Regions from separate parts of the Homo sapiens genome. Here all the other regions are linked to region 3. The links are contacts of gene promoters, found by promoter capture Hi-C in blood cells and fetal thymus (Javierre and others, 2016). All regions are on one chromosome and are shown on one strand. The core of a region is centred on a gene start or on the middle of the fragment in contact, and the rest is flanking DNA. Distances in the headings are between cores, read along the strand shown.

The links. The method cuts DNA at HindIII sites, captures the fragments that hold promoters and counts their contacts. A CHiCAGO score of 5 or more calls a contact.
Region 1: a contact is called between a fragment that was not itself captured here and the fragment with the promoter of NAA30 in region 3, in 4 of 17 cell types (fetal thymus, naive B cells, total CD8 T cells and 1 more). The highest score is 8.8, in fetal thymus.
Region 2: a contact is called between a fragment that was not itself captured here and the fragment with the promoter of NAA30 in region 3, in 1 of 17 cell types (total CD8 T cells). The highest score is 5.2, in total CD8 T cells.
Region 4: a contact is called between a fragment that was not itself captured here and the fragment with the promoter of NAA30 in region 3, in 1 of 17 cell types (fetal thymus). The highest score is 6.4, in fetal thymus.

Annotation. Positions count from the first base shown.
Region 1 is chr14:55,268,580-55,275,777 of GRCh38, forward strand. FBXO34 (F-box protein 34) reads left to right here and starts at 2,842. Exons shown (of 2, transcript NM_017943.4): 1 at 2,842-2,958. It overlaps FBXO34-AS1 (FBXO34 antisense RNA 1), which reads right to left and starts at 3,499. Exons shown (of 2, transcript NR_184222.1): 1 at 3,303-3,499. RefSeq lists a silencer at 2,894-3,393. The HindIII fragment of the contact is 618 bases long and covers 1,387-2,004 here.
Region 2 is chr14:59,474,565-59,481,211 of GRCh38, forward strand. L3HYPDH (trans-L-3-hydroxyproline dehydratase) reads right to left here. Exons shown (of 5, transcript NM_144581.2): 2 at 4,618-4,787; 3 at 1,528-1,650; 4 at 1,305-1,442. Among named protein-coding and RNA genes, the nearest start is that of L3HYPDH, 6.5 kb to the right of the region's middle. RefSeq lists an enhancer at 6,304-6,403. The HindIII fragment of the contact is 1,241 bases long and covers 3,223-4,463 here.
Region 3 is chr14:57,388,098-57,395,594 of GRCh38, forward strand. NAA30 (N-alpha-acetyltransferase 30, NatC catalytic subunit) reads left to right here and starts at 2,489. Exons shown (of 5, transcript NM_001011713.3): 1 at 2,489-2,608; 2 at 2,860-3,631. The coding sequence starts at 2,861. RefSeq lists an enhancer at 2,473-3,468 and silencers at 2,597-2,736, 2,867-3,016. The HindIII fragment of the contact is 6,905 bases long and covers 39-6,943 here.
Region 4 is chr14:55,177,369-55,183,990 of GRCh38, forward strand. It overlaps DLGAP5 (DLG associated protein 5), which reads right to left. Exons shown (of 19, transcript NM_014750.5): 3 at 6,192-6,385; 4 at 5,002-5,064; 5 at 3,845-3,929; 6 at 3,288-3,410; 7 at 2,261-2,331. Among named protein-coding and RNA genes, the nearest start is that of DLGAP5, 11 kb to the right of the region's middle. The HindIII fragment of the contact is 1,505 bases long and covers 4,111-5,615 here.

The sequences.
Region 1 (7,198 bases), core at 446-2,945, 2.1 Mb before region 3:
CTTGATAATGGCATTAATCCATTCATGAGGACGGAGCCCTCATGACCTAATTGCTTCTTAAAGGTCCCGCTTCTTAACACTGTTGCATTGAGGATTAAGTTTCTAACACATAAACTTTGGGGGACACGTTCAAACCATAGCAGTGGGTGTTTTTATTTGGAGGTTGGAGTAAGCTTATTAAGGAATAAGCAGTAAGTTCTTAGTTTTTTTTTTTTTTTTTTCTGAGCAAAGAACAGAAATGAAACCAAGTCTATACAAGACAAATCCCTTGAACTGAGTTTTAATTAATATGTTTGCTGGCTTGAAACAACTAAGTTTTAATTACTAATGGAATAACCAAATATATATACTATATATATTTAGAACTTTTCTGCTGCTGTGCCACCTCAGTCTTGTTCTTCTTTCGGCTCTCACCAGTCCCATGGCCTCAATGTGCCACCCCATGCCCACCTGGGGAGCACCTTCCTGAAGACCTACCACAGGACCTGTGGGTTGATAAACTATACTGGCTCTACTGGCTTTGCTTCTAGGGGATCATTGCCATTATACAAATGGAGAAACAAAATCAAGGGAAGTTCTTGCCTAACATGGTTATGCTCTCTCCTAGTTCTTTTCTCCTAGACTGGGGCTATTTAAAGTGTGGTTCACTGGCCAATCTGAGACAAGAACTGAAATTGAGAATCAGATTTTAGAAACTTTACTAGCAATTTGACAGAATAATTTTATGTCTGTGGACTTTAATAATCAATAATTCATAGGCTAGGCATGGTGGCTCACTCCTGTAATTCCAGCTATTTGGGAGGCTGAGAAAGGAGGATTGCTTGAGGCCATGAGTTTGAGACCACCCTGGGCAACATAGTGAGACCCTGCCTCAAGAAAAAGATGAAAAAATATAATAATTAATAGTTCGGGCTTTTATTATGTCTTTTAAAATTAATTTCATTTTTATATCAATTTTTTGAGTCCTCTAATCAACAGGAATCAAGTTTTGTTTGTTTTTTTTTTTTTTTTAGATGGAGTCTCACTCTTGTCGCCCAGTTAGGAGTGCAGTGGTGTGGTCTCAGCTCACTGCAAACTCCACCTCCCAGGTTCAAGCGATTCTCCTGCTTCAGCCTCCCAAGTTGCTGGGACTACAGGCGTGCCCTGCCACACCGGGCTAATTTTTGTATTTTTAGTAGAGATAGGGTTTCACCATGTTGGCAAGGCTGGTCTTGATCTCCTGACCTCAAATGATCTGCATGCCTTGGCCTCCCAAAGTGCTTGGATTACAGGCGTGAGCCACCATGCCCAGAAGGAATCAAGAGGTTTTAAGAAGGACAGTGTTTGAGATGAATCTGAAAGGATAAACTGAAGTTTTACAATTTTGAGCTAACTATGACATAAAGAAGCTTCAAATGATCATGATATATTGAGCTAATATTGCTCACATATTAAATCAGACATACAGTTTGATGCCACGGTGTACCATATAACACCCTTCCTTAATTTTTTTTTTCCTTTTTGAGATGTGAGCCACCGTGCCTGGACTTCCCCTCTCCAATTTTTATTAAAAATATGTATATAGATAAAGGTCTAGATGGAGATACTGAGTGGTTATTTCTTGGTGATGAGATTATGGGAAATATTTTTATTTTGTTTTTACGTTTTAATATTTAAGATTTTACACATATATTTTACAACAGTAGTTTTATAATTGGACAAAATTATTTTTGTTAAGGACTGGCTAAAATCAAAGTTGCTGGTTTAAGTGTAACTTGGTACAACCTTTTAAAAATCATTTGGCAGTTTGTATTAGTAACTGTGAAAGTGTTGATAGTCTTTTTCACCTAGTAATTTCACTTTTGGGTATCTTTAAAAATCTACATTCATGAAGATGTTCTATGATTTCTTTATAATGGCAAAAAGTGAATGAAGGAAACAAGTTATGTCCAAAAATAGAGAATTACTGCAGTAAATTTTATGTCCACTTAATGTAATTTTATGCAGCTGTTAAACTGGTTATGAAGCTTATGTGGAAATATGAGGAATGCTTATAAAAGTGAAAAGAGGATGCAAAATCGCGTACAACTACTATTACAGTGTAGTAAAATATATGTGATGGGGCAAAAGGTCTAGAAGAAAATACATTGTCCTCATGTTTTTCAATGTGGTTAATATTATTTTCACAATGAAAACAATAATAAGCTTAAAGATTGGGAATCAAAAGTTCCTCACTGGCCCTCTGATTTGAATATAAAGTGTTAAAAATTTATATCCATCATTAACCAGCCCTTAAGCTTCTACAGACTTTAACAGTTTCGTGTCAGCCTCAACGTTTATCTACTTTCTGACCGGTATCCCTGCCATGATTTTCATAGGAAAGAGAGTCAGAAGGGACCTTTCCAATTTTGTCATTTTACAAATTGAAACTCTGAACCCCAGCCTTCCAAGCTAGCAGCAGAACCAGTATGAGGATCCAGGTCTACTAGGTTATCTAATAGTATCTGAGACCATTTACAGCTTCAGGTCCACCCACGAATATTCATAAACTTGACATGTCTGCTGATTGAACCCTGGCGTCACTACCCTTCTTGGCTGGCCTGGGAGGTTTGATTCCTTTCCCTACAGTCGTGCTCAAACTTTCATTCTCTACCACTTGGGGGCCGCAGACGCGTCATCCAGGTCTCCCTTTTCACTTCCCCCTTCCCGCCCCCAGTGTCCGGCAGGGGGCGCCGTGAAACTCTGGATCCGTGGCCCCTCCCCCGGCCAACCGTCGATTGGGCCGGCGCGTGACGTCACTCCGTTTTAGCCAAACAAATGGGTTTCGGGGCGAGCGTTGGGCGCCGCCGCGCCGCGCTGGGTGCTCGGTCCGACTCAGCGGTGGGGAGTGAGCCAGGCCTCCCGCCACCGCTGCTGCCGCCACCACTGCGTCGGGCTGGTGCAGCCCCGGGCCAGGCCGCGGCCGGGGCAGGAGCGCAGGTGGGTCCGGGCCGAGGTGGGGCGTGGCGCGAGGGCCGCGCGACTGGGGTCCGGCGGCGGCCACCGTGGCCGCTCCCCGCCCCCTACCGCCGCCTGCCTGCGCTCCCGGGGCGCGGGGCGGGTGGGGGTGGGGGCGGGGGCGCCGCCCGCGGGTCCGGGGTAGGGACCCGGCCGCCTGCGCCTCCTCCGGTGCGGCTCTTTCCGCGCGCACGGCCCGGGCGCTGAGCGTCCCCGCGGGCCACGGAGGGTCGGGCGGGTAGGGAGCGGGGTCCTGGGTCCCCGCTGAAGCCGAGGAGATTCACGGATAGGCCGTGAGCTTGCACCGGACCGGCGCTCCCACTTACGGGACCCAGGGCGGTGAGGAAGTCAGCCTCTGGACTGGGGTCGCCTCGCCCCTGTCGCGCCCTCCCGGGCTCGGCCACTCTGCCCTTCCCTGCCCCAGCGCAGGTGAGCTGGCGCTTGTCCTTAACCTTCTTCAACGACGAGGCGGGACGGAGGCTCGGACGCCTCCCCAGCCTCTGGGCTGGCGCAAGTCGACTGCGGTTCGTCCTCAGTCCACGATGAAGTCATAGGGCTGTGGGTCCGTGTGTCTGTGACGTCAGAAGATGGGTCCTGGGATGTCACTGCAGGCCCGGGCGGGGACCTGGGCTCACGGAAGGGCCGGGGGGACCCGCAGGGTAGAAAAAGGAAGTTGTCTTCCACGAACGCTTGGAATCGCAGTGGATTTGAATCGAAAGTTGTTCGGTATCAGCATTTTGCAATTTTAATGTAATAGTTGTCAATTTCTTTAACTTCTTGTCCAGCAAGCGTTGCGAGTACAGCTCAGTATAAGACATTTGATTTAGAAAAACTTAAGTCAGGGTAGGAGGTTTTTTGGAGGGTGTAATGTAAAAAGCCTTTTAGGAAGCTAAATTCGTAGTTTGATAGTTTGCAATCAGAATTACTGAAAAAAAAGAGAACCACTTCTAGTGTTGATAAATCAGTTTGCTTTTTTTTTTTTTTTTTAACTGGACATCTATCTGCTTGTTAGCATTTTTTGTTAGAAAATGGCCAGGAGGAGGGAGAGTGGATCTTACATGATTTTTTTTTTCTGTTGTAAAGGGAGGGAGGAGTTTGAATTAATCCAACATTTGTCTTAAATAATAATTACCTGAGGAGTTAATTTATCCAGGTTGTCCCTATCCCACCCTATGGTACCATGCTACCACCCCATGCTACCATGGTTTAGAAGTCAGCAACAAGCTGTTTTCTTGCTTTCTTACTGAGACCCGGCTATAACTTAATATAAAAACATATTCCAGGACCGCTTGTCTGGATAGGTAACTAAAATTTTGTCTGTAGTGCTTTTAAATATGAAATTAGAGAATAAAAAAATGATTTGTCTGTGAATACTGTTTTTCTTCCAAAGCTTTCAGAAGAGATCTAACTGGAAGAGAAGCTAGTCACTTTGTCATAGTGACCCTCTTCGGGTATTCCAGCATATCAGTACTTTTCATTTCCTCCTCTGTAGAATAATGTAAATGGAATCTAGTTCAAAAGGTAGATGGCTTAAACTTGAAGCATAGTTAGTCTTTAGCAGGAAGCTTGGGTAGAAGTCCTTAATCCTTCCTCACTGACCTTGACTTGTAATGGTACGGTTTTTTTTTTTTCCTCTCTCTCAATACTTCCTGCTCCCCATTTGCCTTTTAGAGGTGATTGATAAGATACTGTCTCTCTGGGTTTTACATCAACATGCAGATGGAAGTTATGCCCATTTTCAGGCAGGAAATAAAAGCAAAAATTTACCCGTTAGGTACTATTGGATTTGACTGGAAGTTCACAAAACAAGGCTTTCCTGTACATGTTATTTTGATCCTCACCACAACCTTGGGAATTTGACAGCATTGTGTGCGCTACTGAAAGTTGTTCTGGTTTTTTCTTCCTTCTTTTAAGAAATGAGGAATTTTATGCTGACAGTGTTGAGTGAAGTCTCTAAAGATACAATTTTGTATACAAATTATTTTTCGTATGTACAAATTTTGTATACAAAATTTTGTATGAAAGATACACATTTGAGCCTTTGGATCACCAGAGACTGAGAGGCACTTGAATTATTATGCAACTGCTGATATTGAGAGTGTTAGTCAACCTTTAAGATGAAAGAATCTTGGCAAGATACTATGTAATGCAATTGAAGGAGGTCCAAAATGGACGCTTGCATGTGTCTTTCCCGAGCGGTAGCGATTCTGGGGCCGGCTACACGGCTGTATGTAAGTTAGGTGTACTAGTTTTTTTGTATGTTTTTTTGAAACAGAGCCTCGCTCTGTCACCCAGGCTGGAGTGCAGTGGTGCGATCTCGGCTCACTGCAACCTCCGCCTCCCGGGTTCAAGCGATTCTCCTGGCTCAGCCCCTCGAATAGCTGGGACTACCGGTGCGTGCCACCATGCCCGGCTAATTTTTGTATTTTTAGCAAAGACGGGGTTTCACTGTGTTGGCCAGGCTGGTCATGAACTCCTGACCTCGTGATCCGCCCACCTCAGCCTCCCAAAGTGCTGGGACTACAGGTGTGAGCCACCGTTCTCGGCCAGGTGTGCTAGTATTAATGGGAAAGGATGAAAGTCAGACTAAATAAGAGTTGAAAGACCTGCAGCTGATAAGGAGATACCTGCTATTCGGCAGTGCATTTTTCCTCTCTATTTTGCTTAGCAGTTAGGAAGTTTTTATTTTTCCTCATGGAAAATGAGTTAATAGGTGAAGAATAAATGTCATAGTGCATACTGATGTGACTGAGGGACAACGACAGATATTTAAAAAGCCAGCTTGTGAGTGTTGTGTAATTATCTAACAAGCCAGAACTCGTGTGAAACATTTTTACAGTCTGTTTCTATTTTTGGCAGGATCTTTTTCACCCATGCTTTCCAGTTTTGGGTCTGGGAAGCAGCTTTTACTTCATATAAATGGTTTTATGGAAATTAATTTTGAGATTGGTTTATTATTTTAAGTCATTTTATTCACTTATATAATTTGAAGGCACTAAATTAAACAGTCATTCGTTATCCATCTTTCTGATGGATAAAAGCAAATGTCAAGATGAGAGTGCTGTATTGTAGAAATTCCTCAGGATATGTTTATTGGATCAGTTATTTTATTAACATTTAGAATTTAAATTCTTAAAAATTTTTACTTTATTTTTTAAACTTAATTTATGTTCAGCTAGCTTAATTTGACAGTTTTTATGTTCTAGTAACTTTAATCTTGTTTTAATATTTGTTTGGGAGAAAACATACTTATCTTTAGAGACATCATTTAGTGTTATCTTCCAAAATTTGCAGCTGTTTAGAACCAGATACTTGAGGGAAGCTACTATGGTATGATGAATGCCTTCCTTGTTAGGTCATGTGTGACAAAGGCAAAATTCAGCAAGTGCATAATCTGCAGTCCTTTGGAAGCAACAAAAACAAAAAAGAGCAGATTAACTCGAAATGCATTTAGGTCATCTGGAAATTGAATTCCTGTCAGTTCTTATCTTTGCATAATTTATCTTCTCCCCTTTAGTTAATGCTTATGGTATTTTGAAGCTGATGACATACTTTATTTTCCAGGAGAGCATTAATACAGTGTAGTTGTTTGTTAGTGTTGGTTAAAAGAACTTATCAACCTTTCATTCCCACCTCCATCTTCTAGTTAATGCTCCACAGAAGAGGCTCTCAGTAATCCATTTTAAAATATTCAGCTTCAGAAACCTAACATGTACATTTCCTATCCTCAGTAGAGTATAGGTGTAAATATGAAACTAAGTGCTATGTAAGTGTGGTTATTGCATTATTAGGTATGGATTTCATTCATCCAGCAAACATTTTTTTGAGTATTTCTGTGCCAGGTACTCAGATAGGGACTGTGACACAGAGATGATATATCCTTGCTGCAAGGACCCTTAACCTTTGTTTTAACATTGCCTTGCTATGATGGGTCTTGGGTGTGAGAGGCTAGAGTTGGGTCAAGAGGATAAACTATTGGCCGGGTGCAGTGGCTCATGCCTGTGATCCCAGCACGTTGGGAGGCTGAGGCGGGCAGAACACGAGGTCAGGAGATTGAGACCATCTTGGCTAACACAGTGGAACCCCATCTCTACTAAAAAAAAAAAAAAATACAAAAAATTAGCCAGGCGTGGTGGCGGGTACCTGTAGTCCCAGCTACTTGGGAGGCTGAGGCAGGAGAATGGTGTGAACCCGGAAGGCAGAGCTTGCAGTGAACCGAGAT
Region 2 (6,647 bases), core at 2,593-5,092, 2.1 Mb after region 3:
ACAGCAATATAATATAATGCTTAACAGCATGTGGTCTGTTCAGAGACCCACCTTCATGACCTGGATCTGCTACTCACTAACTAACCTCTGGTAAATTACCTAACTTCTCCAATTCTCCGTTTTATCATCTATTGAAAAACGATAATAACAGCACAGTACTGACCTTGTAGGATTCTTGTGAGGATTAAATGAGATGGCATGTATCAAGTGCTTAGCTTGGAAACTGATGCACAGTGAAGTATCCAATAAATGTATGTTGTTATTTTTATGTTCCATTTCAGATTTTGAAGACAGTATGTTCCAAATTTTTGCATACAACATAAATGGTTTCACATGTTTCAGATCACTATATGATGTAGAGATCCTTAAGGAAACTCTAATATTCAGAAACACCAAATCTTAAAAACAGCTATATTAGGATAGATTGTTTGCTATGTTAAAGGACTCTTTATGAGTAGAATAATTTACTGAATGTAGATCATTCTGTAGTAGATTTCATTTACTACTGAGATAAGATTCATTACTTAGCTGTTAGCACATTTAAAATTTTATTCCATTACAAAAATTTGATGTTCCACAACTTTTCAGGGCTTTCACATCCTATTATATCAAATAAAACACTATTATAAAATAAAACAAAAAAACAAAAAAAAACCCCAAATCCTAATGGTTCTCAAACCTTTTGGTCTTAGGACCCTTTTATACCTTAAGATTTGAGGACCCCAAAGAGTTTTTCTTTATATAAGTTATATCTATCAATATTTACTGTATTAGGAATTGGATATATCTGTTCATTACTTCATTTTAAAAATAACCCATTATACATTAACATATGAATAACACATTTTTGTGAAAATAACTGTTTGCCAAAACAAAAAAAATTATGAGAAAAGTGGCATTGTTTGATATTTTTGCAAACCTGTTTCATGTCTGGCTTAACAGAAGACAACTAGGTTCTCATATCTAGCTTCTGCATTCAATTGGTTGGGTTATCACATATCACATCGTAGCCTCTGAAGAACCCCACTGTACACTCTTGAGAGAATGAGAGTGAAAAGCAAATAATGTCATTATTATGAACACAGTTTTGACCCTCTGAACCCATGGAAAGGACCTTAGGGGCCCGCTGGGGCCCCAAGACCACACTGGATAACCAATGTCCTAGTTGAAAAGAAGTTTTTACAGGCCTGCTTTAAAATTCTCTTCTGAGAGCTGAGTGAAGAAATTTATCAAACACCCAACTCAGGCCTCTCCAGTCTCATGAGTGACACATTTATAAATAAGAAGCTAAGGGTGCCACTTACCCTCACAGCTTTCCCTGTGAATACTGAGCCAGTTGCACTGCTTTTGAAGGCTCTCATCTGGTTCAGTTCCAGAAGCCCTTTGTGATACTGTAAGGCAATTCGGGCTGTCACTCCTGAGCCAGTGGGACTTCTGTCAACCTGTTTCAGAATAAATGAAGACAGAATGTTCATAGTGTGTTCCATATTACCTGGCTTTTGTCCCTAAACATTACAGTTTTAATACCTGTTCATCTGCAAAAACACAAATGTTGGTGGTTGGTTCCTTGGTATAAGCATCTTTTCCATCTGTTAATATAGTTCCATATAAAAAGGCAAGGTCTTCACTATCAGGATGATTAATTTTAAACTGCAAGTAACAAAAAAAGATCACATGCAAAATAAATATTTTGATTCAAATTTATAAATAATGCAGATGGGTCATTCTTAGACATAACTTTTTAATCCTTATCATTTTTAAAATACCTTTTTGGGCAACGTATACTAATTGCTAGAAATTATGTCTTTGTCTAGATGAAGAAACATAGTTTTACTGCAATTTATAATTCTTATCATACTTTGAGTCCCTTCTAAGGAAGCTGTCCTGCATATAGCCTTTGCTAAAAAAGCAGTCCTATTTTATACACCCCTCCCACCCCAAATACACATAGTCTTTGCAGCACTGACCCCAGGATGGTCAATCCACAGGCTGGCGATGGCTGCTCAAACAGGATGAGCTAAGGCAATCATAGTCTTATTCTCAGGAGCTTAAGGAGGATAATGTGGGAAAATCAGGCTCTGAGTATCTAGAGCTGAAGTTAACACCAATGATAGAGACAAAGGCTGTGAGAGGATATAACATTCTGTAAGAATGCAGAAACTATTAGGCAAGAGAAACAATTGGAGGAAAAAAAGATTTATTGTAGACGATGAAGTCAGTTGATTCATCAAAAAGCAGCAGATATGCACACAAAGAAGCAGGCACTGGCAGGGTAGCTAAGTCACTCAATGGTAGATTCAGGCCCAAATATGCAAAGCTACTTGTTCTTGGAAGTCTAGTTCTTTAACTTTTCCTGGATTTCTGCAAACATTTACAGTATGACTGAGATTGCTATAATCTGACTTCCCTTGTATATGCTTACAATTAGTACTTTCTACTTCCAGTTACATGTCATTTAAAGCAATGGAACAGCTTTGGGTTCTTAACATCCAAAGAGTCCATCTGAAACCAAGTTAAAGCGGCCTGCAGATTGAATCTTTGTTCTCCATCCTCTTAAAGTGATACGCCCCACCTCCACTATAGCACATTCCAACATAACACTGTTCACAGGTATGCTCGCTTCCCCAACTGGAGCTAGCTCCTCAAAGGTGGGGTTTGTTCTTTCTTCGAGTCTCCAGGATCTAGCAGAATGTCTAACATATATACAGTATGTTTGTGGTAAATGTTTGTTAAAAGAGTGAATGAATTAAGATGAATTTATATTAACTTTAACTCTCCATCCCCATGGCCTTTTCCTAAATCTGCTTCAGCAGTGTGAATAGTCAACAGTTCACAGAGTAATTAATTGTACTGTCTGATACATCAATAACAGAACTTGTCCTCATTTTTCTCAGAATCCTTCCTCCCTCAAAGTCCACCCCTTGCCATCTTGTTGAGTTCAAACTCAAATGAGAAGTACAAAATTACACCTTTTATTAAGATATCCATGACTTTTTCTCTTGAATTCATGAAAAATTAGGAGAAATTATTTTGTGCCAAATTGTTAACTCAGACTATTAGCTGTCCTGCTTAATGGAACAGAAAACTGATGTAAATTCAGAGCTTCAAAAGTTGCTATCATAATATAATTGCACATATTGGTACTGGCAGTACCAGAAAAATAATTTAGAATACTGATACAGTGTATATTCTCATTTTAAGTTATAAATTATTTTAAAATAAAGCTTCAGAAAATGATAATTATTCGTACATTAGACACTATCTTACACAAGTTACTTTTTACTACTAATAAATTCTCACATACTAAATTCTCACGTACTAAACATTCAAATACTGTACATGTGTTTTATTTATAGGTCCCAATTTCAAGGTAAAATGTGCTTCACTCGTGCTAGAAGTGAAAGAATATCCTAGAATTATTATCTAAACTGATTTTATCAAATTAGCTTTCCCAAGTAAAAACTAGAGTTATTTAAGTAGTTATTTGAGTAACTTCTTAGCAATGTAGGAAAAAAATAATAGGAATTAATGTTCTCTATGAAATAAGAAAAAGGCTTAAATCTATTCTGTACACTATATTTTACATTTATTATTTTCAAGTTTAACAGAATGACCACACACATGCATTTAAAATTTGCAGAATTCTATAAATATATTTCTACACATTTAAGGAACTATAAACTATATTAGTATGTATGTATTATTAAATTTAGTAACTGCTAGGTGTGGTGGCTCACACCTGTAATCCCAACACTTTGGGAGGCCGAGCTGGGAGAATCACTTGAGGCCAGGAGTTTGAGGCCATCCTGGGCAACATAGTGACATCCTGTCTCTATATAAACACACACACACACTCACACAAACACAGATTTAGCTGGGTGTGATGGGGCATGCCTGTGGTCCCAGTTACTCTGGAGGCTGAGGCAGAAGCATCATTTTGAGCCTGGGAATTTGAAGTTACAGTAAGCTATGATCACACCACTGCACTACAGCCTGGGTGACAGAGCAAGACCCTGTCTCAAAAAAAATAATATTATCATTTACTGAACATTTACTATTGGCCAGACACTACTCTAAGTCCTTTACATGTATTGACTTATTTCATTCTCACAACCCTACAAAGCAGGTATTTTTTAATTTCCATTTTGCAGACAGGAAAACTGAGGCATATGGAGGTTACGTAACTTGCCCAAGGTTATATACGTTACCAGTGGTAAAGCTAGAACTCATAGATAGTTTTGCTCTAGAGCAGGAATGTCCAATCTTTTGGCTTCTCTGGGCCACACTGGGAGAAGAATTGTCTTGGGCCACACATAAGATACACTAACACTAACGAGAGCTGATGAGCTAAAAAAAAATTGCAAAAAAACTCATAATGTTTTAAGAAAGTTTACAAAATTTGTGTTGGGCCACATTCAAAGCCATCCTGGGCTGCATGTGGCTCACAGGCCACGGGTGGGACAAGCTTGCTCTAGAGCCTAAGATTTTAATAAGTACCCTATTCTTAGTACTATTAATAATTTAAACATCATTTAATTTTCTTTATAGACATAATAATGTATATTTCCTCCATGCCACAGAGAAGGGAATTGGTTATGAAGGCAGAGTATTACTGACCTGAGCTTTCACTGCCTCTGTCACTGCACTCGCTGCATCCACAAGGTCCCTGGTCTTTGCAGAACAAATGTCTAGTCCTAACTTTTCAGCAGTAACAAATGCATAAAATGCACCGCCATATGCAATGTCCACCATCACCTTTCCATGTCCAGGAACATCCACCATGAGATCTAAAAAAAAGATGTGTTTGGAAAGAAGATGTGTTTGTTAATAAGTATTTTAGCAATAAAATTCAAAGGATTTTTAATATGTTTATTTTTCAAGAGGGATGTTCTTTTCCTATCATAAAAATAATGAAGTAAAAATCCGTTTTTTAAATGAATAAGCATCGAGTGAATAATAGCTAGATGCATCATTCTATTTTTAACTTGATGATTGCAGAAGTTATAAACTAAAGCCATGCTTTCCCTAACTCATACAGACATATTCATTAACTTCCCTGAGGATCTTTTCTAGGAAACACCCCTGAGGCCGAGAGAGGGAAACCCAAGGGCATCCCTGTGAACACTAAGAAGGAAAATGTCTATTCCCCACTTGTACTATGAGAGATGGTTTAAAATAGTGAGGGTCTTGGATCCTATTTACAAATCAATTTTCTTCAGCCGTAATGTCAAAACATAAATTTTAATAAAAGATTTTTCTATATAAATTATATACACTTATCTACATGTTTTCATCTCCTTAAGGTATCCTGCAGGCAAACACAGAAAAATGCCATTGTAGAATCATTGACTGCTACAGCATCATTTTGCACCAGGGTTTTTATTTGAGCATTTTAAGTCTCAACATCCCCAAAGTTTCACCTGAAGGTCAGTAGTTTGAAATCTTGAATCTGTATTTCCAAAGAAAGGGGGCTGGGTGATGTTTATTTCGCCCCTTCTCAAATTTTCCTCTTCCCTAATTTAAGCTAGCTTGGTGATCACTGCCTTTTAGGGAAGCCTATGGCAGGGGAGAAAGCTTGTCTTTCATGTTTTTATTTTAGGGAAGCCTAAGCTCTCAGGGGAAAGACATCTGTTGGCAAAGGAGTGTCCTGAAGGGAGAAATATTTCTCCTAGAGATAAATTTTTTCTCCCTTGAGAAGAGTGGAGGCTGAAGGTCCTTAGTGCAGAGAGGACGTGTGTTAACTTCCCCCAGGGCACCACAGGAGCAGGAGTGAAGAAACAGAGGATGGGGAGGCAGTGCAGAGGGCAAGGACCAGGTAGGGTGGGGCAGCCAATGCTCCTGCTCCACTTTGCTGGTTAACTGTGTAAGCTGAGGACTGAAGTGCCATCCTCTCCAAGGCCACAGCACTTTTAAGAAACCTTTGCTCACACATATCAGGAAAGGGGACAACACATGGAGTGATGAGGCTAAGTGAACCAAAAGGACAGAGTAGAGTTTCAGCTTCAGAAATTAAGTTTTGGGAAAGAAAATATATCTTGTGTTCCTGAGTTTTCATACAAGGTCATACAAAGATATCAGTATGCTATCAGTCCACAGAAGGCTATCAGTATGCTATTAGTCCACACTAGTCCACAGAAGCCCTTTTAACCCATGATGTGTTAAAACAGAGCAAGTTTATAATCAAAAGAGTAAAACATGCTGTGGATTGTAACAACAAAACTGAATAAAAAATGTCTTTATCTTGATGCTGGCGCAACATGAAAAGCAAGTTTAATGAAAAGAGAATGGGCAAGTTGATAGAAATGAGGGACTGCTGGAAGGTGGAAAGCTAAAGTGAGGGTGAAGATCAGCACTTACCAGGAGACACAGGTGACGGTCCCAGGGTTCAGTCGGCCTGCCCTCTTCCCTTGATTGTAACAACTAAATGGGGCATTGGCCACCAATCCCGGGACCAGGATGAAATTGGGAAGCTGGTTCAGGAGAAGTCATCCCTGAGCCTACAATCATTTCCCTGGCCCAACCTTTCTAGAATCTTGGGTCTGGTTTTCTTAGGGTGGGCAGTTGGGTAGGGTGCTACACCTCACTGAGTTTCAGTTTCCTTTTCTTTAAAATGGACCAAATTTCCTTTAAAGTTACTCTTGTCCACC
Region 3 (7,497 bases), core at 1,239-3,738:
AGGTTACTGAATGAGAGACTGGTGTACTTCAGTCAAAAAGCTTAACAATTTCCCTTTTATGTGTTTGATATGTGAATACAAAGTGACTAACATTTACTCCCTGGCCTCAAGAAGGTCCTTACAACTCTTGACTTTCTGAAAACCACTTTGAGACAACATCTGGTCAGCTCCTCAGTGTGACAGAGCTCAATGCCAAGTTGCAACACAGAAAGAACAGGAAGGCCTGCTGCCATTCATTCACTACAGTGAAGGTACATGCTTTTTAGGAAGGGCTTACATTTAAAAGTAAATTACTGAGAGGTATTTTTCTAAGTAAAATTCACCCTTAAACATCTCTTATGGAATTATCTGGTGCCTCTTGGGCCAGTTTTTCCACCATGATTTGAACAGATCATTGTTTCATTGGCTGACTACCCAGGTTACACTTAGAAACTTTGAAAAACATGTATCTTTAAACAATGTATGCACATTTGGAAACATGGTTTTGTTTTGTGCTTTTTAAAAGACAGAAAAGGGATCACGCTGTACTTATACATCTCATTTATATCCCCCACACATCAAGGTGTTTAGGAGGTTTTCAATGTATCTGTAGCAAGTTATACATTCTGAAAATGGCCACAGCAATATTTCTGGTCCCATATGCTCTTTGAGAACCTTGCCTCTCTCCACCAAGAGTAGAGTCTATTTCCCCTCCTGTCAAAACTGGATATAATTTTGTGTCTGCCTAGATACAATGCAGCAGAACTGACACTACATAACTTGTTTTTTGTTTCTTTTTGATGAGAGGGAGTCTCCCTGTGTTGCCCAGGCTGGAGTGCAGTGGCGCAATCTCGGCTTACTGCAACCTCCGCCTCCCGGGTTCAAGTGATTCTCCTCAGCCTCCTGAGTAGCTGGGACTACAGGCATGAGCTACCACGCCCGGCTAATTTTTGTATTTTTCGGCAGAGATGAGGTTTCACTGTGTTGGCCAGGCTGGTCTCGAACTCCTGGCCTCAAGAGATCCTCCCGCCTGGGCCTCCCAAAATGCCAGGATTACAGGCGTGAGGCACCGCACCTGGCTAGAGACTACATGACTTCTAAGGCTAGGTTATAATGGGTAATATGCTTCTGATTGACTTTCTCGCACGATACTTGCCGTGGAACCCAGCCACCAGGCTGTGACAAAGCCCAAACCAATCAATGCTAAAAGACCACCGGGAGAGGTCTACATGGACTAGAACTGAGGCCTCCAGCCTTTATCCTGCATCAACCATCAGCGGTGAAAGTGAAGTTTTCAAATAATTCTACTCCTCAGCCTTAGAGTCTTCCAACTGAAGCTCTACGCATAATGGAGTAGAGAAAAGCCATCCCAGTTGTGCTCTGTCTGGATTTCAGAGGCACAGAATCTGCGAGCATAATAAATACTTTATACATAGAGTTTAGATTACGGCAAAAAGTTGCAAACGTGTTCCGTCATAGAATTATATATTGAAAACGTCCATCTGCGGCACACCAGACCAGCTCTATAAATCAGGTTTTTAACAAAACCGAATTTGTTCAGTGAGCGGGTGAGTTACACTACCTGTCTCAGCTCAGACCTGCCGGGAGTCAATTGTGGACTAGAGCAGAAGGCGCCCAGCCACAAGCTCAAGTTCTATCCCCTTTGCACTCGATAGGCAGATCCCCTGGGAGGATCAGGCCACCTGTTTACCAGTGCTTCCTAACCTATTTGTGTCACAAGTTTAGGAGTGTGCTTCTTAGCCCTGGTCACTCTCTTTCACCACCTCTCTCTAACCCTTCCCCAGGTGTGCTAGCAATTGCCCAACACCTGTCAGTCACTTTTGCCTCCAATTTTACTGGGTGCGAGGAGCAGAGTAAGGAGGGAGAGGAAGAGGGCTGACTCCCTTGCCTCAAAGTGGCAAGGGCCAGCTGAACTTAATTCACACTGCAAACCACCACGTTTCGACAGCCATCCCCATATTTTCACAGCTCAAATCTTCCTTTCTTTTTCGGTCGGCTTCTCTGATTTGCTCCATTTTTAATCGCTCCTCCCCCATCCTCCTTGCCCCTGGTCAGGGCAAACATTAAACGCTGTGCAGCTTTAAAAGGGCATTTTTAGGTGACTTGTAAACGGCTTGTTCCACAGGCCCCGAATTGGCGAGATTCGCTACAGCTCGGAGTGCGCGGTAGACTTTAAGCAGGGAGCGCCTGCCCGGTCCATCCCTCCCCGGCCCCGCGTGGCAAGCACCGCAGGTTGAGGCGCCCCCAAACCGAGGAAGAGGGTTTGGGAGCCTGTGACTCCAAAGCCCTCTGCAACTTCCCGGCCCCACAGCCCCACCCACTAGCACGCGGCCTTCCCCGCAGCCCGCAGGAGACACCTTTGTCCCCGCCCCTCCACAGGTCACCTCCCTCCACGCCCCTCTCTCTTGGCCCGGGCAGCCGGCAGGCAGGGAAGTGTCGTAAAGCCAGGCCCAGGAAACTTTACCCGGCCTAACAGCTGAGGCGCTTTACGGCGACGGCGGCTGAGTGAGAACCTTGGCGGCTGTGGAGGCTGCCGCGGCTGCGAAGGAGGCGGCGGCGGTGGCGGAGGAAGAGGAGTGGCGGCAGCGGCGGCGGGGACCCGTGCGGGGTGAGCCGTGAGGAGGGGCCGCGAGTGACAGGGCTGGCGGGTGGGCCCGGGCGGACGGGGACGGTGGCCGGCTGAGCAGCTGGGCGGCGCTGAAGAGCGGGGGGGTGGCGGGGAATTGGGGGGCAGCTCCGTGAGGGACGGTTTCTGCCTTTGTTCCCCCCACCTCGGCCGCCCCCCATCCGTCGCCCCCTGTTCTCCGCGCTCCTCGGCCGGGTTTCATGGCCTCCCCTCTCGGTCTGTGTCGCTTCTAGGATGGCGGAGGTACCGCCTGGGCCTAGCAGCCTCCTCCCACCACCAGCACCTCCGGCCCCGGCGGCGGTCGAGCCCCGCTGTCCCTTCCCGGCGGGGGCCGCCCTCGCCTGCTGCAGCGAGGACGAGGAGGACGACGAAGAGCACGAAGGCGGCGGCAGCAGGAGCCCGGCGGGCGGAGAGTCGGCGACGGTGGCGGCCAAGGGGCATCCGTGCCTCCGCTGCCCTCAGCCGCCGCAGGAGCAGCAGCAGCTCAACGGATTGATTAGCCCCGAACTGCGGCACCTCCGGGCGGCCGCCTCCCTCAAGAGCAAGGTCCTGAGCGTAGCAGAGGTGGCCGCGACCACAGCCACCCCTGACGGAGGCCCCAGAGCGACTGCAACAAAAGGAGCCGGGGTACACTCGGGCGAGAGGCCCCCTCACTCCCTCTCTAGTAATGCAAGAACTGCGGTCCCCAGCCCGGTGGAGGCAGCGGCGGCGAGCGATCCCGCGGCGGCCCGCAATGGACTGGCCGAGGGCACCGAGCAGGAGGAGGAGGAGGAAGACGAGCAGGTGCGGCTGCTGTCTTCGTCCCTGACCGCCGACTGCAGCTTAAGAAGCCCTTCGGGCAGGGAGGTTGAGCCTGGGGAGGATCGGACGATACGATATGTCCGATATGAATCCGAGCTACAAATGCCCGATATCATGAGACTGATCACCAAAGATCTGTCCGAACCCTACTCCATTTATACCTATAGATATTTTATCCACAACTGGCCACAGCTGTGCTTCTTGGTAAGTGGATAGAATAAAAAGAGGGTGAACCCAGCAGTGATCGAGACTGTGCGGGGCAGGGAGTGAGGGCCCAGAATGTGGCAGTGGATATCTCCTGCTGCGTATCATAGTACGTTATATGATGTCAAGTGCTGTACACATTCCTAGTTATTTAATGAAATTGTTTTGAAGGTAAGACTTCATGATTCGGGTTAACGTGATACTAGTGTAACTGCAGCAAGCCTGTATGGTGGCGTGTTTCACTGGGGTGGGGGTCTTGTGTCTTGTTTACATTAGATTATAATCGTGTTTAACCGTCTTTAATTACCCGCCCGCATCCTCAAACACTTTACAGTCATTTAATTTGAACATGGTTCTGTTCAGATACAGGCCTTATTAGTCTCTCGATTACAACCATAATCAGGGAAGAGTGTATGCATAAACATGTTGTGGTGAACATGGATGTCAGCAAACTTGGTGTGGTCATATTGGAGAATTAAATCTTACAAGCATTTTCGGTAATTATGGAGATGTTTCTCTTTACTTCAACTGGACAATTAACAGTTGTAGCCAGCCTGCTTTCTGGTACTCCATTCCAGAAAGCGCTACTAACACTTCTGGTGGCTGAAAGACTCCTGAAACTTGAACAAAATACCCTTTTGTGGAATGTAGAAAACTTGTGTGAAATTGTTACCGATCTGATTTTTTTTTTTTTAATTTAAGAAACTGGTTGTAGATGTGGCCAAACACTAGTAACACTGGCTTGTGTAGAGTATAATTGACAATAATATTACACGTAAGTGAAAGACTTTTGGACGGTTTTTAAAAATTAACATAGTATTGGCAGTACCAGTAATTTCTTCACAATAATATTGACCCATTTCAGTCTGTATGAACCCTTTAACTTAAACGTTGACTGCAGGTGTATGCTTTGTATCATGTGCTCACAAGCATATTGTTTCTGTTGAATTTTACTACAGAAAGATGACATCCTTTTAAGGAATATTTTTTAATATGTGAAGGGAAAAGCCACCATTACTTAATGTTTTAGCATTGGCTTAGTTTCACTTGGTAATTCCCTGCAAGATATTTTGACAATACTTATCTTTTTGATTCTCTAGCTTGGTGATAATTTGAAAATGTAACCTGGGTATTGTAGATAATGGTAGTTCTATTTTCTGTCTTAACTTGCTTAAACTTCAATTCAGTACATTTGTTAAAACTGTGGGTACTACTTTATATTCTTGAAAACTGCTCTTTCAGTATTCTAAGCATTGTATCAGAATAGTTCTAAGACATGTCTGTGTCAATGAATATGAGAAAATGATTTATAGCACTATTATAAATGTCATATCAAATGCCACTGTAATTGCTAAAAATTGTAGATTTAGTTGTAAGTTAACCCACAGAAGTAGATGATTGAGTCACATTTCAAGTTGAAATAGATGTTTTTCTGTCAATTCCAGGAAATAGTTGTGTATATGATATTTAGTCAACTTTGAGTCCTGATAGTTACCTAAGCCTCTCTCAACTTGTTTGCTATTTTAGACTCTGGTCAACAATATTAGTAAACTTTAGATTTGATTTTATGTAGAACCCTCCCAATTCACCAGCTAATGTGTATGTTAGCCTTTAGTAGCTCAAGTTTGTTTAATATTCTGAGTATCTAGAATTGCGATATGCACAAGTGGTTGACCTATAAGATTTACTGGTGCAAGTATGAATCAGGAGGTATTAAACAATAATAAAACAGTAAAAAAACAACCAGGCCATTTAAAACTGAAGCCTTTATCTTGGCATACTTTTAAATTTAAGTTTCCCATAGGAACTATTTTTTTAAAAATACAGATGCGTAAATGTCTGTTTATTTTAAATCATATCCTTTTAGAACTGAAAGCCATCCTAGAGATAATCTAGCCCAACTTAGGTTTTGTTCTGTTTTGTTTTTTGATTGAAAAAAAGTTAAGAACCAAAGTGACTTAAAATGTTTCAATCTCCAGATATTTACTGACAGAGGGGTAGGTTTTGTTTTGTTTTTTGATTGAAAAGAAGTTAAGAACCAAAGTGACTTAAAATGTTTCAATCTCCAGATATTTACCGTCGGAAGGGTAAAGCTAGAACCCAGTTCTCCTGGCCTCTCATTATGGTAACAAACAAGAACCTGAAAAATGACATACCCTTGATCCATTCAGTGAAGATTATTGTGTCACCAAGTTATCTTCACCAAGGGACAGTTGCCCTTACATCAATCTCAAGAGATTAAAAACCTCCAAAATGTTCCGTTTTCCGTGGATAACCTGTAATGGGTCAATGGAGTATATGGGGTTGAACCTTACAAAATTGCCAATACTTGATTAATAAAAATGATAGCTTATTATGATTCTTCCTAATTGTAAAAGATGTAAAAAAAAAAAAAAAAAAGGACAAATGTGAGACACTTTCAGTTACTCTGTACTTAACCATTTTATCTTTACCTGTTTTCATAGTAACATTTTCAGTTGTTGGTATCTTTTTGAAGTTCTTAAACTTACTCTCAGCAAATGTAACATAGTACTTCCATTTATTTGTTCTAAATTTAACTTTTTGGCTTCCTCCAGTTTTCTATTTGTAGTGTTCTAGAATTTGGGAATCTCTCACTTTATTTTTTTCATAGTTTTATAGACTGACAACCCTTTGGCCTTGTAGTGTTAAGTCTTAATCTTGCCGGGGATTTTTCAGTTCCCATCCTTGAAAAAATACATTTAATAGCGTGAATTCCAAATGTATATGCAGAGCTTTTATTTGGAAAAATTGACAAGCAATTTAGTGATTCCTGTAAATGTACCACATATTCATGAGTAGTTTATCAGGAAAAAAAAATGCAGCATTGGTCTTCACTACTAATGTCATCGTAATGGTGTATGATATATTGGGCTTTTTAGATGATGTATACAGCTTGATTTTTGCTCCTATAGATTCTAAATTAGGAAGAAATCAGGTCTTAAGAATGAACTAATTTAATATTTTGTTTGCTTATTCCATGCTCAAAGGACAAAGATTTGTTTGAAATTCCTGTTCAGATTGAAAGTACTGTCCAGTTGTATTGTGTTTAATGGTTTTAATTTTTCCTCATTTTTGGATAGTTTTATATAAGGTGTAGCTATTCTGAGGTTTGTATCATCAATCTAATACAGGTTTTCATTTCACCTGAGCCTGGCTTATGAGGTCAGGCCAAAATTTTTTCTGGCCCTTTTAAATATACCATTTGGTCTGTGATAATTTTATGTATGTGTATGTATTTATACGTGTCTGTATATACGCACATATATTTGAAGTGAGTTTCAAATCAGAAAAAGCTTTCAGAGTTGGTCGAGGCGATTTTTGTGCATACTTCAGGTCTTTGTTTAAAAAATTTTTTTAAAAGATTGATGTATTGTGAGGGAAAAAATTAGAAATAACAATTTCAGAGGTTTATTGACCCAAAATAGTTTTGGAATGTGTGATAAACCAGAAATGAATTAGCGTGGGTTGTTGAATTTCATATTCCTTCAAAAGGATTTTTCCGACCTAGTTTAGGTTTGCATGAAATGGATTAGAATTATCTTGCTGAAAAGATTTCTCCACAGTTAAAAAAAGGCCTTTTAATCAATTTACAGAATGACAGACTAAAAAAGTCACAAATTTAAAATATGTATTAATTATAAATTGGACATTACTTATTAGTTTTTTGACTCATTTCTGCTTTTGTTGAAATAGTTTCTTCTGGAAAGTTAATTTATGGAAAACAGACTTCTTACTGACACATTATTTAAACAGTTGGAGATACTGCCCTATTTATATTTACCAGAAATACTGTGTTACTAGAACTTTTTATCAGCATTGGAATTTTTGAAAAACATTTTCAATGG
Region 4 (6,622 bases), core at 3,613-6,112, 2.2 Mb before region 3:
TTCTCTCTTCTGAGGATATATTCAACCAATTTTTATAGGTCTGAAAATATGACAACAGAAATATATGTTCTATGTACATAATTTGAGAGACAAAAACAGATACAATTAAGTGTATACATGGAATCAGAAGACCAGTTACGCTAAATCCATTGCTATTACCCGGGAATAGAATCTTTTTTTTTTTTTTGATACGGAGTAGCCCTCCGTCGCCCAGGCTGGAGTGCAGTCGCGCGATCTCGGCTCCCTGCAAGCTCCGCCTCCCGGGTTCACGCCATTCTCCTGCCTCAGCCTCCCAAGTAGCTGGGACTACAGACGCCCGCCACCACGCCCGGCTAATTTTTTGTATTTTTAGTGGAGACGGGGTTTCGCTGTGTTAGCCAGGATGGTCTCAATCTCCTGACCTCGTCATCCGCCCGCCTAGGCCTCCCAAAGTGCTGGGATTACAGGCGGGAGCCACCGCACCCACCCCGAACCAATTCTTATTTAAAGACTAACTAATACCTTTTGGGTATTACAACAAATTAAAAGATAATGGAAAATTAATATGGAAAAACTTATTCAACAAATACGTATCTTTTTACTTAAATTATGTTGATAATTACGGCCAGGCACGGTGGCTCATGCCTGTAATCCCAGCACTTTGGGAGGCTGAGGCGGGCGGATCACAAGGTCGGGAGATCGAGACCATCCTGGCTAACACAGCAAAACCCCGTCTTTGCTAAAAATACAAAAAATTATTGGGGCGTGGTGGCAGGCGCCTATAGTCCCAGCTACTTGGGAGGCTGAGGCAGGAGAATGGTGAGAAACCGGGAGGTGGAGCTTGCAGTGAGCCGAGATCGTGTCACTGCACTTCAGCCTGGGCGACAGAGCGAGACTCTGTCTCAAAAAAAAAATTATGTTGATAATTACAATGGTTTAAAATCAGAAATCTAACATTATGGAATGACTATCATTAAGGACCAAATTCTTAAGTTAAATAACCTTAGATTATAAATAACCTTAACACAAGAGCAATACTTTCAATGTGACACAAAAGATTAACCATATAAAATACAAAGCATATTTACTATTTCAAGTCAATTTGTTACTTGGTATTTAAATAATTTCTAGAGGTTTCCAGGTTTCTGATTTTTAATAAGATATGAACTCAAACCCAGGTATTTCAACCTGGACAAGAGTTTAAGTGGTAACACTGTTGAAGCCAGCATGGCAGTCAAAGCAAAAACTAGTGATAATCCTTAAGGGTTAATCTTAAGGGGGGACCTATAAGGTCCAGCTGCTTTATCTGTGAAGATTCACTGTGTGTTTCCTTTCTTGATCTGTGTTTGATTTTTTACTAAGAATCTAGCCAGGTTACTTAATCTTTGGTACTTTTTTTAAATTAAGAAATTATACTGGCCAGGCGTGGTGGCTCACGCCTGTAATCCCAGCACTTTGGGAGGCCGAAGTAGGTGGATCACCTGAGGTCGGGAGTTCAAGACCAGCCTGGCCAACATGGTGAAACCTCGTCTCTACTAAAAATACAAAAATCAGATGGGCGTGGTGGTGCACGTCTGTAATCCCAACTACTCGGGAGGCTGAGGCAGGAGAATCACTTGAACCCGGGGAGCGGAAGGTGCAGTGAGCCAAGATCGCGCCATTGCACTCGAGCCTGGGCGACAGAGTGAGACTCTGTCTCAAAAAATAAAATAAAAGAAAATAAACTATATCATAGATTATAGGCCAAGGGGTTGGGTCCTCAAATGGGGCATCTTTTTTGAAGACCTTATTAGAAACCATGCTAGATGCAGGCAGAAATTTTAGTTTATTTAATTCTTACAACTACTCTATGCAGGTATTCCATGTTAGGAATAAGAAAAGAAGCTCATAAACTACATAACTTGCCCAGGGTTATGCAACTAATTGGAAGCAGAGAGAGTATTCAAACCCAGGCCTAAATGAATCCAAAGTCAATGCATTTCACCCCACTTCACCCTATGTCTTGGCTAATTCCCACATACAGGTTTCTCTCAGCTGTGTTTTTATTATTTTTCTCCATCTTCTAACAAAATTATGCTTTCTCTACCTATAAAGCTCTGAAAATAAGATACCTGAAAAATAACAAGAGTAAATCCTCTTGATGCTTTCTTATGGTTCAGGAAGTTTTAACACACATGTAGGTTAACCTTTTGAAGCAGTTCTTTATGTTTAATTTCAACTTTATGAAAGTAGCAATGAGATTTTCAAAGCATCTAGAATTAAAAAGATGTTTATTCTCTACCTTGTCGGGTTTTGTTTCTACATTTTTGGCAGGTCTTCCTTTACTTGGCACCTTTCCTTCTGGTTCGTTTTCTAAAACAACAATAAAATATTTATTTTACTAGATAGAAATGCTACATGAAAATACTAGGTAACTTGGGAAAGGAAAAGAAGCAACAGTAGGAATATATGTCTTGAAGGATTTTTTTATTAAAAGCCATATTATAAAAAGGGTTATGGAATTTCCTGCCAAATACAAACCATCTCTTTTCAAAACCAGAGTGTTTTACCCTTTTCATCTGAATACCAAATACAGATTGAGTATCCCTTATCCAAAATGCTTGGGACCAGAGATATTTTAGATTCCAGATTTTGGAATATTTACATTATACTTACAGGTTCAGCATACTTGATACAAATATCTAAAATCTGAAATGCTCCAAGAGCATTTCCTTTGAGGATGACCTTTGAACTTCATGTCAATGCTCAGAATTTTGGATGTTTTGATTAGGGTTGCTCAGCCTGTACATATTTATTACAGACAATTAGAAAAATAACAGAAAACTACAAAGAACAATAATGACAAATCACCCAGGATTCCATTACTCAGCTGTCACTTCAGGGTATGGTTTTCCAGTCCTATGTCCACATATTCCCATAATGCTTTTTAGAACTGCGATCCTACTGTTCAGAGTTTGACCTGCTTTTCTTTGCCCACTTAATATATCATGAACCATGTCATTAAGTGTTCTTTAATAATATTATTCTTAATGGCTACGTTGTATTGCACCAAATAAATGAACTGTGATTTACTCGGACCATTAATTTTTCACTTTGAAACACTGCTTATACTAATTAAGGTCTTCAATGATTGGGCACCCATTGTGTGCTAACCAGATGTCAGGGCACAGAATCTATTTTCAGGTATTAGAATTTCCTGTTTCCTTCTCTCCTACTCAAAGAAGTACTTGTTGATTTTTGAAACGGAACACAAAAACCTCAAGGACCAAACATTCTAGTTCAGTCACTGATCAAGGAATAGTTCTCACCATTAGCAGCTCTTGTGACTGGCTTTCTTGCTGTGGTAGATGAGACTGTTCTGGGAACCTGCTTTGCTGCTTGAGTAGCTGATCGAGTCATTCTCAACGACGTGGGCATTACAGGCTGCACAACTGTGGGAAAAAAAAATAACTACATCAAATGTCCCTTGTAGTTATGAAATTATTGCTGTGAAGCCAGGCATGGTAGTGCAATGCCTGTAGTCCCAGCTACTTGGGAGGCAGGAGGATTACTTCAGCCCAGGAGTTCGAAACCAGCCTAGGCAACATAGTGAGACCCCGTCTCTACAAAAAATATAAAAATCAGCTGGGCATGGTGGCAAGTCTGTAGTTGCAGCTACTCAGGAGGCTGAGGTGGGAGGATCACTTGAGCCCAGGAGGTGGAGGCTCCAGTGAGCTATGATTGTGCCACTGCACTCCAACCTGGGCAACAGAGCAAGACTCTGTCACAAACAAACGAACAAATTCCAGTTGACCTTCAAGACACTTAAAAAAAATTATGGCTGTGGTAGCCTCAGAGGATTTATAGTAATTGCTAATATTCCTACCTTTTTTCTCTTTGTCTGACACTTTCTTTTCAGAAGTTTGTCTTGGACCAGGTCGGATTGCTCGAACATCACTCTCGTTATCAATCTATTTAAGAGATTAGGTGCTATGTGATTTAATTGCATAATGAATCAGACCATCATATTTTTAATCTGTAAATTGATTCCTCATATGAAATCTGATCATCGTAAATGACCCAACAACAACAACAAAAAACTACCCCAAATAAAATGAGATAAAGAAAAGCTTTCCATTAAGCTTCCAAAAAAGCTTACATCCTTTTTCACAATCACAGAATTTGGAAAATGCTAATAACCCAAGCTATTAAAAACAGCTCACTATAACTTGCCTTCTGAAGGTCCTTAAACACTCCTAGACATACTTTCACTTCAAGACCTTTTAATTTTGCCTAGAAAATACTTCTCCTGGATAAAAAGCGCTTTCCCATGGTTCTCTTCTCCACTTCCATAATGACTTCACTCAAAAGGCTTTCATCTCAGGGAGGCCTTCCTTAACTGCCCAATCAAAATTCTACCCCATACCTATTTCTAGTACACCCCATCTCCCCTTTTTAAAATCTCTTCCATAATACTTATCATCTTCTGGCATATTATGTATTTTTTTAAATGCCTTACATGTAAGTTCCACAAAGAGAATTTAGTTTATTATATCCAAAAGCCTACAACACCAGGAACATCATAGCAATGCAAAATATATATGCATACGTGGAACTTAGCTTCCTCACCTGATAAAGAGGCATATTATTTCCCTTCTTGCCCACTTCACTTTGTTTTAGTAACCCTCCTGATATCTCTATTACAGTATTTTGAAGACCCGTAAGTTTATAACACCTACCCTGTGTGCTTTCCTCCCCATATGCATTTCATGCAGGTAACTTGGAATGCATAATAGGAGCCCACTAAACAAAACAAGAGTGTGACACAAAGACAGTTTGCCATGGATCTCATACGGAATGTTGGAGCAAATATTTTAAGTGAAATTGCTCTACATCACCATACTAAAAACAGTGACTTTGGTACCTGTTAACTCTAGTAAATTAATCATTATGTTTGAATCTGATACTAGATTTAAAATGAATTTACTTACTAAAAAAGTGCAATTTATCATTTTAGTAACAATTATCTACTATCAACTATACCTTAGTCTGCTCCATTTGGTCTTTGGCCTTTGACCTTGTAATCCGTACAGAAGATGGAATAGCCTTAGAACAGTCAAAAGAAGATGAACTTAAAATATGAACTGGTAAAGGTTTACTTCCATATCTTATTACAAAATAAAGTTCCCATTTTAAAGTTAAATTTTATCCTTAATCTCTTATAGCAAAAAGATACTTAAATTCCTTTTTCTGGTTCTAGCTTGATTTAAATTAAGTTAGTAACTTCAAAAATTACTCACATTTCTCAGTGAGAAAGAAATTTCAAACCGTATTTTCCAGGTATTGGAATCATCATTAATATGAGCTTCTATCCTCTCTTAGTTCTCCTGCCTCTCTGACCAGTCCTCAGCCTGGTACCTGGCTTCTGCCTACCTAAAAGTGCTCTCTAGAGCCCACTTTTTCATAATTTTATATATCCTTATTGGAATGGTCTCATTTAGTCCTACAGCTTAAACACTCATCCATATTCCCAATATTATATCCTAAATCGACATCTTAGCACCAATTTCCATCCTTCTTTCCAAATTTTTACTAATATCTAGGTGGCCCACACAAGTTTAAGATTTTTAAAAAGGTTATTAACATGCACCCACTTAAGCTTGTTCCTTATCTTCCTTATCTCTTTTAGCAGCAGAGCTTCTCTCTGCTTTTTCAATTTCCTTTACCCCTCACCATCTACTTGGCCACCAGTCCTGTCAAATGCCTTTATTTAGATGTCTTACACCTATTTTTTCCTTTTAAAACCCACTGCCCCTTTCCATCTATTCTATTACAATAGTCTCACAATTGGTCTCCCTATCTATAAATGCTTCCCTTTCCAGACTAAAATCTTTAGGGCTATGGTATTTTCCTGAATTATTAATTTGACAACGGCACTACCCTTATTTATAAACTTCTCCTGATTCTGCAAAACCTACAGGATAAACACCAAATCCTTTGCATAACATTGTTCAGCCTGATTCTACCAATTTTCCTAGTTTTATCCTATCTCAACTTACCTACAGCTATCTTAAGAGACCTGATTTTCATTCTTCTGAGCTACTATTATGTCATTCCCACCTTCTACCAACCAGTTAATAATGAGACTAAGGGAAAGGGGTTAGTCACTTAATGTCTTGAAGAAAATACCAAATAAAAGAAACTATTCCTTTATATTAAGACACTAAATTTACCTTTTTTGGCTCAGCTTTCACAGCATTCTGGTTTGATAAAAGAAAACAAGGCATATCAGGTCTATAACGACCCACTTTAAATATTCCTCGTTTAGCTTTCTCTCTCTGCTCTTTCAATTTTTGAAGTTGCTTTTCTTCTTTGTATTTTTGGAGCATCTGTTTTCGTTGATCACCTAGAATAGTTTTCATTGCCCCTAGGCAGAAAAAAAACCAAAACCACACAGTATATAAAACATTTCAGATGAAAAGTTATGCAAATGTATAAACAATTATTTTTGTGTCATTTCAACTGCTGCTAAAAAATGCTTTCAGGCCAGGCACGGTGGCTCACGCCTGTAATCCCAGCACTTTGGGAGGCTGAGGAGGGCGGATCATCTGAGGTCAGGAGTTTGAGACCAGCCTGGCCAACGTGGTGAAATCCCATCTCTACT